Linked DNA regions of Homo sapiens: region 1 is linked to region 2. Evidence: promoter capture Hi-C in 16 types of primary human blood cells and fetal thymus (Javierre and others, 2016). All regions are on one chromosome and are shown on one strand. Each heading gives the region's core, a stretch centred on a gene start or on the middle of the fragment in contact. The rest is flanking DNA. Distances are from core to core; before and after follow the strand shown.

Region 1 (5,339 bases), core at 1,559-4,058, 320 kb before region 2:
AGGAGATGAACTCTTTTTTTTTCTTTTTTTTTTGAGACGGAATTTTGCTCTGTTGCTCAGGCTGGAGTGCAATGGCACCATCTCGGCTCACTGCAACCTCTGCCTCCCGGGTTCAAGCGATTCTCCTGTCTCAGCCTCCTGAGTAGCTGGGATTACAGGTGCATGCCACCATGCCCAGCTAATTTTTGTATTTTTAGTAGAGACAGGGTTTCATCATATTGGTCACGCTGGTCTCGAACTCCTGACCTCAAGTGATCCGCCCGCCTCAGCCTCCCAAAGTGCTGGGATTACAGGCGTGAGCCACCACGCCTGGCACTCGTTTGTTTTTAAAAGGTTATTCTTGTTTCTGCTGGAACAGGGATACCAATTAGATGGCTATTGTAATCCAGTGTAAAATATTGATGGCTTGGACCAGGTTATGGCCAGCGGAAGTGATAAGTAATTTAATTCTAGATCTATTTTGAAAGTAGGTCCAGCCAGATTTCTAGGTGGATTAAATGTGGGGTGAGAGAGGAGGAGAATAATCAAGAATGACTTTTTTTTTTTTTTTTTTTTTAGCTTGAGCAACTAGAAAGATAAGAGTTGACATTTATTGATATGGGGAAGGCTGTGAGTGGAGCAGATTTTGGGAAGAAGATGAGAAATTTAGTTTTGGATGTGTTAGGTTTGGGATGTCTATTTTAAGAAATCTTTTTTAAAGATATAATTCACAAAAAATATACTCATTTAAAGTGTACAATTCAATTGTTTTAGTATATTCATAGAGTTGTTCAGCAATCACCATAGCGTGTCTAGTATATGGATTGTTTTTAGAGCCAGGAAGCTGGAAGAGATCAACTAGAGAGAGAGTGTAGATAGGGAAGTAAGTCTAGTAAGATAGAGCAGCAAGTACAGATATAGAAGAGGTCCAGAGAGAAGGCTATGGTATTATGAAATCTCTATTTGGTCTCTGTCCCATTTCCTGGCATACTACTTCAAAAATCCTTGGGTCTTCAAGGTGATAAGTGTCATTTTGTATGCTAATGAGTTGACTGATGGTTGGCATCCCCTGGGTAGCCTAAGGATGGGGGCTGGTCACTGGAAAGAATAAGGCAGGACTAGAGGTTGTGACTTTCCGCCCTACCATCTAACCTCTGGGGAAGGGAGAAGAGCTGAAGGGGTAAACTGAACACCAGTGGCCAGTGGTTTAATTAATTATGCCTTCATAACGAAACTTCCATAAAAATCCAAAAGGACTGGTTTTGGGAAGCTTCTAGACAGCAAAACATATGGAGGTTCCTGGAGGTTGGCATGCCCAGAAAGAACCTAGAAGCTCTGCACTCTTAGCCCTACCTTGCCCCCTCCATCTCTTCATCTGGTGTTCATTGGTGTCCTTTGTTATGTCCTTTATAATTAACCAGTAAACGTGTTTCCCTGAGTTCTGTGAGCTGCTCAAGCAAATTAATGGAACCCAAGAAGGGGGTTGTGTGAGCCCCGATTTATGGTGGTTGGGTCAGAGCAAATGTTAACCTGAGATTTGTGATTGGCATGGGAAGTGGGGGGCAGTCTTGTGAGACTGAGCACTCAGTCTGTGGGATCTGATGCTCTCTTCCAGTGTCAGAATTGAATTGGAGGGCACCTAGCTGGTGTTCATTGCAGAATTGCTTGCTTGGTGTGTGTGGGGAGAACTCTCATACATTTGGTCAAAGAAGTCTTTGTTGATTGTTGAATGAGAATGTAGGAAAAGCACTTTTAAGTTTGTTTATTCTCTATTCTCAGAAGGCTGTTGGGGCATTCTAGTATTTTAGATGACTCTTTCTACTTAGTCTAGTGTGTTATTGGCTTAGGTTCTTTTTGAGGTTCAAGGTAAACTTTGTCTCAGCCCCCCAAAGAAGTAATAAATCTATTTTGGTCTCTTGCGTATTTTTACTCTTGGTTTACGCTTAATGGCATTTCTGTATTCATTGAGCAGGAGCTCTGTTATAATTGGTTATTATCCACCCTCTCCCTCCCCTTTAGATGCCTAAGTCACCTTTTTTTTTTTTCATTCCATTGCTCTAGGTTCATAGAGTTATAGGTGGTATTTTTCCAGGTTTCTGGCAATGTTTCGAAACATGGAACTGTCTTAATTATAAACTATAATTATTGTAATGGTATATATTAAGCCTTTTTGTCTGTATTGTGAGACTTTCCAAGCAGTTGTTATCTTCTTCCTTTTAGCTGCTTAGTCTCTTACAGCAGAAGGGTGATTTCATCCATGGCCTTAGGTGGGTTTGAAGCAATATGTAAAACATAATTTTACTATACCAAATTCCATAGTAAGCTAAAGAGTAAATTTTGTAGCAAATAAACATTCCCATAACTAAAAGTGTGAAACACTACTGACAAACTTCACATGGTTCTGTGACATGGAGGTATCTTGAAAGGAAAATTACAATAGCAGTGGAAAAACACTAATATTAAAATTTGCTCACAGAGGCCACCCAGAATTACTTTAATGTTAGTTTTGTCTGTAGAGGAGGGACGAGTGTATGTATGTGCGTAATTTTTTAGGGAGTAGAAGCTTACTGATTTTATTCTTTTTTGTTGTTATCAGCTTCCTTGGGTTGAATGATTTTACTCTTAATGATTTGGCTTCCTGCCTTTCTTAAACTAATAAATAATAGTTGCATCAAAATTCTTTCTTCCTCCTAGGCTTTTGTCAGTTATGTTCTCTTTTTTCCTCCCACTTTTTCCAGGTGTTTATTGTTTTACAGCAGTACTTTTAAAAGTCAAAAGGGGAGATTTTGGTCAGTTGTTTTAAAATTTCAATTGAGAATTAAGGATACATGAGGTTTAATTTGTTGAAGGAACTCAGAGACCCTAATAAAAATTACCCAAGAACAGAACAATTTACAAACCAGCTTGACTGACTTTCTCATCTATTTGTCAAGGAAACAAAAAGTAGTTGTGTTTCGTAGTGATTTCAAATTCCACTGCCCCCACAGATATTAATTATAGAACACTGGAGGAATGTACATCTTAGGGAGAAAGTAGTAGAACCTAGTTATTCCTTTTGAGAAAAGGCAACAATTCCATCTGTGCTTTGAAATATTAAAGCTTTTCTGGCTAAGATAAAGATAGTTTTTAAAAATGCTTCATTCTTATTCTCTTGTTTTTAGAGAAATATTGAAATAGAGGCTCTTTGATGAAGGAAATGAAAATGTTTGGTTTGCTGGGTTTAAATTTTACTAGTGTTTGATTGAGGCCTTGATCTCTCCCTCATCTCTCTTTCTTCACTTCTTTCTCTTATAATTAATTTCACTTACTTGCACTTTCTAGTTCTCTGGAATCCATTAGCAGAGAGAGAGAGTGATTCTTTATTACCCTTTAGTAAAAGTTGCACTGTGAAAGGAAAAAAGGATCTTTTAATGTTTGGGATTATAACTTAACATTTTTTGTTTTAAAAAACCTAGAATGGATCCTGAGCTGTTTTTGTGTTCCTTTACTGTCATCATAGTTTTAGAGTGTAGCATGATACAGTCTTTTTTTTTTTTTGAGACGGAATCTTGCTCTGTTTGTTGCCCAGGCTGGAGTGCAGTGGCGCCATCTCGGCTCACTGCAAGCTCCGCCTCCCGGGTTCACGCCATTCTCTCGCCTCAGCCTCCTGAGTAGCTGGGACTACAGGCGCCCGCCACCACGCCCGGCTGATTTTTTGTATTTTTAGTAGAGAAGGGGTTTCACCGTGTTAGCCAGGATGGTCTCGATCTCCTGACCTCGTGATCCGCCCGCCTTGGCCTCCCAAAGTGCTGGGATTACAGGCGTGAGCCACCGCGCCCGGCCGATACAGTCTTTTAAAATGATGATCTTTGTGTCTAGGAGGCAGTATTACTTGAAAGATTAAAATTCTCTTATAATATGTTATGCCTAAAGATACAGAATGAGAAAATGAACTTAGAAATACTGAGTGCTGGCCGGGCGCTGTGGCTCACGCCTGTAATCCCAGCACTTTGGGAGGCCAAGGTGGGGAGATCACCTGAGGTCAGGAGTTTGAGACCAGCCTGGCCAACATGGTGAAACCTTGTCTCTACTAAAAATACAAAAATTAGCTGAGCGTGGTGGCATGTGCCTGTAGTCTCAGCTACTCGGGAGGCTGAGGCAGGAGAATTGCTTGAACCCAGGAGGCAGCAGTTGCAGTGAGCTGAGATTACGCCACTACACTCCAGCCTGGTGACAGAGCGAGACTATCTCCAGAAAAAAAAAGAAAAAAAGAAAGGAAATATTGAGTACTTCCTCTATGTAAACCCCTGTATTGGGTGCTGAAAGAGATGGAATTATAAGGAACTTAACATTTAGTAAATGGGCCGGGCGCGGTGGCTCACGCCTGTAATCCCAGTACTTTGGGAGGCCGAGGCGGGCGGATCACGAGGTCAGGAGATTGAGACCATCCTGGCTGACGGTGAAACCCCGTCTCTACTAAAAATACAAAAAATTAGCCAGGCGTGGTGGCGGGCGCCTGTAGTCCCAGCTACTCGGGAGGCTGAGGCAGGAGGATGGTGTGAACCTGGGAGACAGAGCTGGCAGTGAGCCGAGATCGTACCACTGCACTCTAGCCTGGGCGACAGAGCAAGACTGCGTCTCAAAAAAAAAAAAAAAACATTTAGTAAGTAAGATAGGAATTGAACACATATAACTGGTTCTGGGAAGTATAATAATATGAGTTTTATATGCTCTAACAGTTTAGAATAGGTATCACTTTGGTTGGATTGCTGGATCCTTATTGTTTACTGAGGATCCTTACTAGCTATCATACATGTATTACCTATAATCTTGATGTCAGCTCTGCAAAATATGAATTTGTAAATTTATAAAAAATATGAATTTATAAAATATAGATGTGTAACAGTTGAATTTATAAATTTATTAAAAATTTATAAATTGAGTCTCAGAGAAGTAAATTGATTATTTTGGGGAAATTGTCAGAACATTTATAGTGTAGGAAAAGGAAACGTGCCTGGTTTCAGAGTGGCTAAGCATAAGCTTAATTTTGTTTTATATAAGCAGAAGTCACGTGAAGGTAAGTGGGAGAAAGAAAAGAAATACGGTGGATTCAAAGCCCAAGTTGCTTACAAGTATGTTGTTATTACTTAATAATCTTATATTTCCAGTCATTAATGTAGTTAATTTTACAAACATAACACTAATAGTTTAGTAAGAAAATAACATTTACTGAGTTCTTATGTGATTTCATTTAATATAACAATTCATTAGTTAATGTATTATTACTGAGTAAATCTATTAGTGATGTATATGTAAATTACACTGGTGACAGGTAAAATAATAAACCCTATAAATGACAATAAATTAAGTACTTGAGGGCT
Region 2 (5,570 bases), core at 583-3,082:
AGATGGGGTTTCACCATGTTGGCCAGGCTGGTCTTGAACTCCTGACCTCAAGTGATCTGCCTGCCTGGGCCTCCCAAAGTGCTAGGATTACAGGCATGAGCCACCAGGCCCGGCCAAACCTGCTGATTTTTTCTGCATAATCTATAAAGAAGGAGTGAATATCCACCATTGTCACTCCTCTTTCACAAAATGGATCCCAAGTTAAGTAAGATGGAACAACAAAAAATTGTGAGCATCCAGCCCCAAAATGCATATAATAATTTGTATCTAATTTCTATAAACGTTCCATGGTACTACATTATAAAAAAACACAAAAAATAGAAAGTAAAAAAGAATACGAAAAACTAAATAGAAATACATGTTCTATATTTCCTTCCCATACCCTAATGACTCATTTCATGTACTCACTTTGGAGATCACAAGTCTAGACGATAACATTCAGAAAATCATGTGTAGTAATTCCACAGTCAGTAAACTTAGCAGCTCTAGTCCTAGCTAGCCATATCTTGCAAATACACAAGGAGCTGCAAACAAAAATTACTGGCAAGAGAGTGTTGAAAGATTAACAAATTTTCTCAATTTAAAAAAAAAAGTCAAAGAACATGTCTTTTATTCTATGTACTACGGTCAAAAGAAACTGCACTAAATCATTTGTGATAAAGTTTATAGTTAGCATACTTTATTTTATATAAATCTAGATATCAGTTTTTAAGATAATATATAACAAATATTTTAAATCAGCAATTATATAAAGGAGTATCTTTTTCAAGATCAAAATAATGGTATTTAAGAGTTGCTATGACTGGACTCGTTTCTACTCCTCTAGCAATATTTCCCATTGCTCCTAATAAGTAGTGTTGCCAGACTTTTTCTCAAAAATGTCTCATGCTTTCTTTCTGCTTCTGCTCCTCTGTACTTGCTGGGGTCTTCACCCTTTTCTCTTCCTCTTTACATTCTACCCATTCTTTAAAGGCCTTGTGAAGGCCTTTAAGTGACCTCCTCTTTTCTATTACCTATGTGTCTCATGGCCACTCCCTCAGCTGTTTCACAGAGCTTTATTTATACTCACTTCCTTTAAAGTATTTATTATAGTCTTTCTCTTGGTATAGCTGTCTCTCAACTGTAAACTTCTTAAGAACAGGGATATTGTCTTCTTGGGTTTATATATTCTCCATAGCAACTAGCACTGTCTTTAACATTGTTATTGCTCGATAAATTTATATTGATTAAAATGAATACTCAGAAGTGCATGTGAACATTTAAAATAGAAATACAAATGAAGTGAGCTACAAAAGTTTTTTTGTACAAGGGTATATTTCAAATATAATTTGTTATGGGAGGTGGGAAGAAAAGTGAAGGAGGAAGAGAACCATGAAATAAATTCTTAAGCGCACTAAGCCTATCTGGCACTGTGAATAGGGACTATTTCCTAAACCAATCCAAGAAACTTTAAACCTTCGCGGGGCAGGGGGGGAGGGGGAGAGGGGGCGGTTTCTTTGAGAAATTAGTTTCATCTGCACATTTACTAGTTAAAAATCCTACTTGAAAGAAAACAAATGGCCCAAATGAATACAAACCTTTCCCTCCCATAAAATAATAATTTTAAAAAATAGAGGTTTTTTTTGGTGGGGGGAAGGGACGTTAGGAAATGTAATTTTCTCGTTGCTTACCTGATGTTACTCCTGGGTTATGGCTGGACGCAGGCTGTAGCTTGTGCTGTATTTTAGAAGGACACCTGTTCTCCCCACCCCACCCCCGTCCTAGTAGGTGAAAAACTTAGCCACGCAGAGAGCACAAACTTCCTGATCCTTCGATGCAGAGAAGGAATAACACATCAGCTTCCTCAGGATCACTAGGCAACCTACCTTGGTGTTTCTTCATTGCGCCAATCAGAAATCACCAAGGTTGAGTCCCGCCAATCGGAGCTCACAGGGGGAGGCTCTCCCCCAGCTATTCTGTTGCGATCCAGACAAACACCACCAAAAGGAGGCAGGTTTGCGTTCAACCTGACAGCTGGTCAATCCAATGAAGGAACCTTGGTGGAAGAGAGGAAAGAGGGCTGCGCTCCCCACCCCCATTAAACCAGCCAATCAAAGCGCTGAGTGAGCTAACATGGGCTGCCAATCTCGAAAGGTTTCTGTGGGTTAATTTCAGCGTAGCAGGTGTGTTGCTGTAGTAGCGTATACTGGGACAATTAAGTGAGATGTGTTGGGATCCAAGCAATACAGCTAAAAATAAATAAATATTTTTACATTGGTTGTTTCTGACAGTCAGTTTATCCTTGACTTGACTGTTCCAGAAAAACATGATCTGGGTCAGTTTGTGTACGTTTATATGGTTTACCTTAAACAGGATGAATACATTTCTACCATCGCATATGTACCAGCATTCCCTATAGCGCTTATTACTGACAAACCCATGGATGTGTATGTTTTTGGAATATGGCTGCTGAAACTACAAGCGGCAAACAGACCAAGTTTTAAGTCTTCCTTTTTCTAAAGCAAAGAAAGCAGGCAAGGCTGGAACTAGCTCCCAGGTTTCTCATTAAAAGCACAGCATTTTTCATACTACCACTCAAAAATTCTAGAAAGTGTGCTCAACTCTTCTTGCAAAGTAATAGCTACCGAAATCATCTAAAAATTAGTATTCCCTATCCCCCCATCCTCCTACCAGCCTTTCAAATGAATGAAGCCATATTTCCTGCTACTTAAATAAAAATTAGAAGCGATAAAAGGGCCTACGTACTGAACAATATTTTATTTATGCTGCAAAAAATGCCATACTTTAAAAATCAGTCTTTTTGTCCTGTAAAAAAAAGCATAGTAAAGGTAAAGCACCAATTCTTAAATTGTACATTATATATTAAAATGTTAATACATTATGTCAAAATATTGAAGAACATTGTTTTAATAACAGCACAATGACAAAAGAGCCAGTTAAATGGTATAATTTTAACATAAGTAAAAAGTGAATCCATACCAAATTTTAATACCAAAGTAAACATTACTGTTTAGAAAAATGGCATTAGAGGGCCTTAACAGTTAGTATATATTTAAAGGAAATATTAAGTAGGTAATGAACAAAATCAATTTTGAAATTTTACTTATTACCGAATCAATTATGACATTTGTACTTTTGCTTTTATTCAAAAGTTCTATTGGATTTATCTCAAGATTAAGGACCACAATATGACAGTCAGCCAAAAACTTAGTTTTAGTGTACAAACTGCTTTAAACTACATATACATCTTCAGAGTTAGGGAAATATAATATAGGGTCCTTCAGTTTAAATGGTGAGAAGAACTCTGCAAGCCTGCAGAACAAAAATAATTTTTATATATGTTCCTTTGGTTCACTAAACTTTCTCCTTTTTGGCACTGACTCTTGACTAGAAGAATCAAAGTGATGGAGGACCTGTCAAAAGAAAACAACTACTAAGAATAGATACTTTCCTGTTTAAATGTCTTTAATTGTAGATTTTTTCATGTATCTGAGATTTCTCTTCTTTTTAAAAAAATTTATGCCTAGCATACCTAGCATAACTATATCTGGGTTTCTTAAAAGTAGAGTAAAATTTATTATTAACATCTTCCAATGGCTGCTGAAAGTATGTACTTGCAAAATGTATAATCTTCAGTAGGGCTGCTCTAGAAGTGAGAAGATAGATTTAACATTATGTCCTCAAAATAGCCAAATATTTCAGAGCAATAAGAAGGGAAAAAAGATTTTAAAATGAACTACAAATAGAAAAACATTCTACCTTGGAATCATGTACGATTTAAATCATGTCTTGCTTTTGTACTCTTGAGACGTTAACATTTGAGTTTTAAAAATAGTCTTAGGTTTTCAGTTGTTTAATTCTAACCTACTAATAATACTAAAATATCTAGTTGGAAAAATATGAATAATTATCTCAGAAATGGCAAATACATTATCTGATTTGGTAAAATAAGGTTCTAAATATGAAACAACTATAGGGTTTAAGTCAGGAAAATATTTTTTTCTCCAGAGGTACTAGGAGGAGACCCTATATTTTTAGGGAACACATGTATTTAGTAAATTATCCTCCTTCTACTTCAGTTTTGATCTCTAGAAAGCTCAGATCAAATTTGTGGCCCAATTTCAGTTCTATATAAACAAAATGGCCTTAGTATTCTTGTACTGTCACTTTCTCATTCTATATTCTCTTATATTTTTCCTGGCACTGATTTTTTTTTTTTTTAAAGACGGAGTCTTGGTCTGTCGCCAGGCTGTAGTACAGTGGCGCGATCTTGGCTCACTGCAACCTCCACCTCCCAGGTTCAAGCGATTCTCCTGCCTCACCCTCCCGAGTAGCTGGGACTACAGGCGTGCGCCACCACGCCCAGCTATTTTTTTTTTTTTTTGTATTTTTGGTAGAGACAGGGTTTCACCATGTTGGCCAGGAGGGTCTCGATCTCTTGACCTCGTGATCCACCTGCCTCAGTCTCCCAAAGTGCTGGGATTACAGGCATGAGCCACTGCACCCAGCTGATTTTTAATTTATATATTATAAATTCCTCCAATTACTTTAAATCATTCATGGAATGAGACAGGAGATGTTTACATGGAAAAAACTAATAAACCAACATAGGGCATCTTATTTCAAAATCACCTCGATTTTTAGAACAAAATATATTTAAACAAAATTTGAATATCAGAACTCTCAGGTACATCGAAAGATATCAAATTCATCATTTTAAATTTAATCTGTAGTAATGATATTCTGATCCTTCCCATTGTATTCAAACTATACATTATCATAAGACTTACTATTCTCCCAGATTCATGTTGACTTCTCTTCCGATTTTCTTTGGAAGATTTTACTGGTTGATTTCCATTTGCCTCCACAAAGATAGAATAATTACTAATTGGTTATTTCTCAAAGAACAGCCAACACTTGATTTTTCAATCTTATGCAACGATATGCAATATTTATTTATTTATTTACTTTTTAGGGACAGGGTCTCCCTCTGTCACCCAGGCTGGAATGCAGTGGCACCATCATGGCTCACTGCAGCCTGAAACTTCTGGCCTCAAGGGATCCTCCTGCCTCAGCCTGCCAAAGTGCTGGGATTACAGGAATGAGCTACAGTGCCCAGCTGGATATACAATTTTTTTAAAAAACAGCTTTATTGAGATATAATTTAGATACTATATGATTCACCCATTTATAAGTGTACAATTCAATGATTTTCAGTACCTTCACAGAGTTGTACAACCATCACTACAATCAATTTTACATCACTTTCATCACCCCACAAACAAACCCCATATACCTTAGCTATCACTCTCTTATTCTGCCATCCTCCCACCAGCCTTAAGACTGTCTCAATAACTTTCCCAGTTCTGACTTTCAAATGAAAGGAATAATACAATATGTGGACTTTTGTGAGTAACTTCCTTTAATTAGCATGTTTTCAAGGTTCATCTAAGTTGTAGCATGTATTGGCACTTCATTTTTTTTATGGCTGATATTCAATTGTATGAATATACCACATTTTTTAATCCATTCATCTGTTGATGTATATTTAGGTTTTTCCCATCTTTCGG

What was found. The method cuts DNA at HindIII sites, captures the fragments that hold promoters and counts their contacts. A CHiCAGO score of 5 or more calls a contact.
Region 1: a fragment that was not itself captured here is called in contact with the fragment with the promoter of GOLPH3L in region 2 in 1 of 17 cell types (total CD8 T cells); the score reaches 5.1 in total CD8 T cells.

What each region holds. Positions count from the first base shown.
Region 1 is chr1:150,372,999-150,378,337 of GRCh38, forward strand. All of the region lies in intron 1 of RPRD2 (regulation of nuclear pre-mRNA domain containing 2), which reads left to right. Among named protein-coding and RNA genes, the nearest start is that of RPRD2, 12 kb to the left of the region's middle. The HindIII fragment of the contact is 536 bases long and covers 2,541-3,076 here.
Region 2 is chr1:150,695,322-150,700,891 of GRCh38, forward strand. It overlaps GOLPH3L (golgi phosphoprotein 3 like), which reads right to left and starts at 1,833. Exons shown (of 5, transcript NM_018178.6): 1 at 1,671-1,833. HORMAD1 (HORMA domain containing 1) reads right to left here. Exons shown (of 15, transcript NM_032132.5): 14 at 4,791-4,862; 15 at 2,739-3,413. The coding sequence ends at 3,333. The HindIII fragment of the contact is 16,001 bases long and covers 1-5,570 here.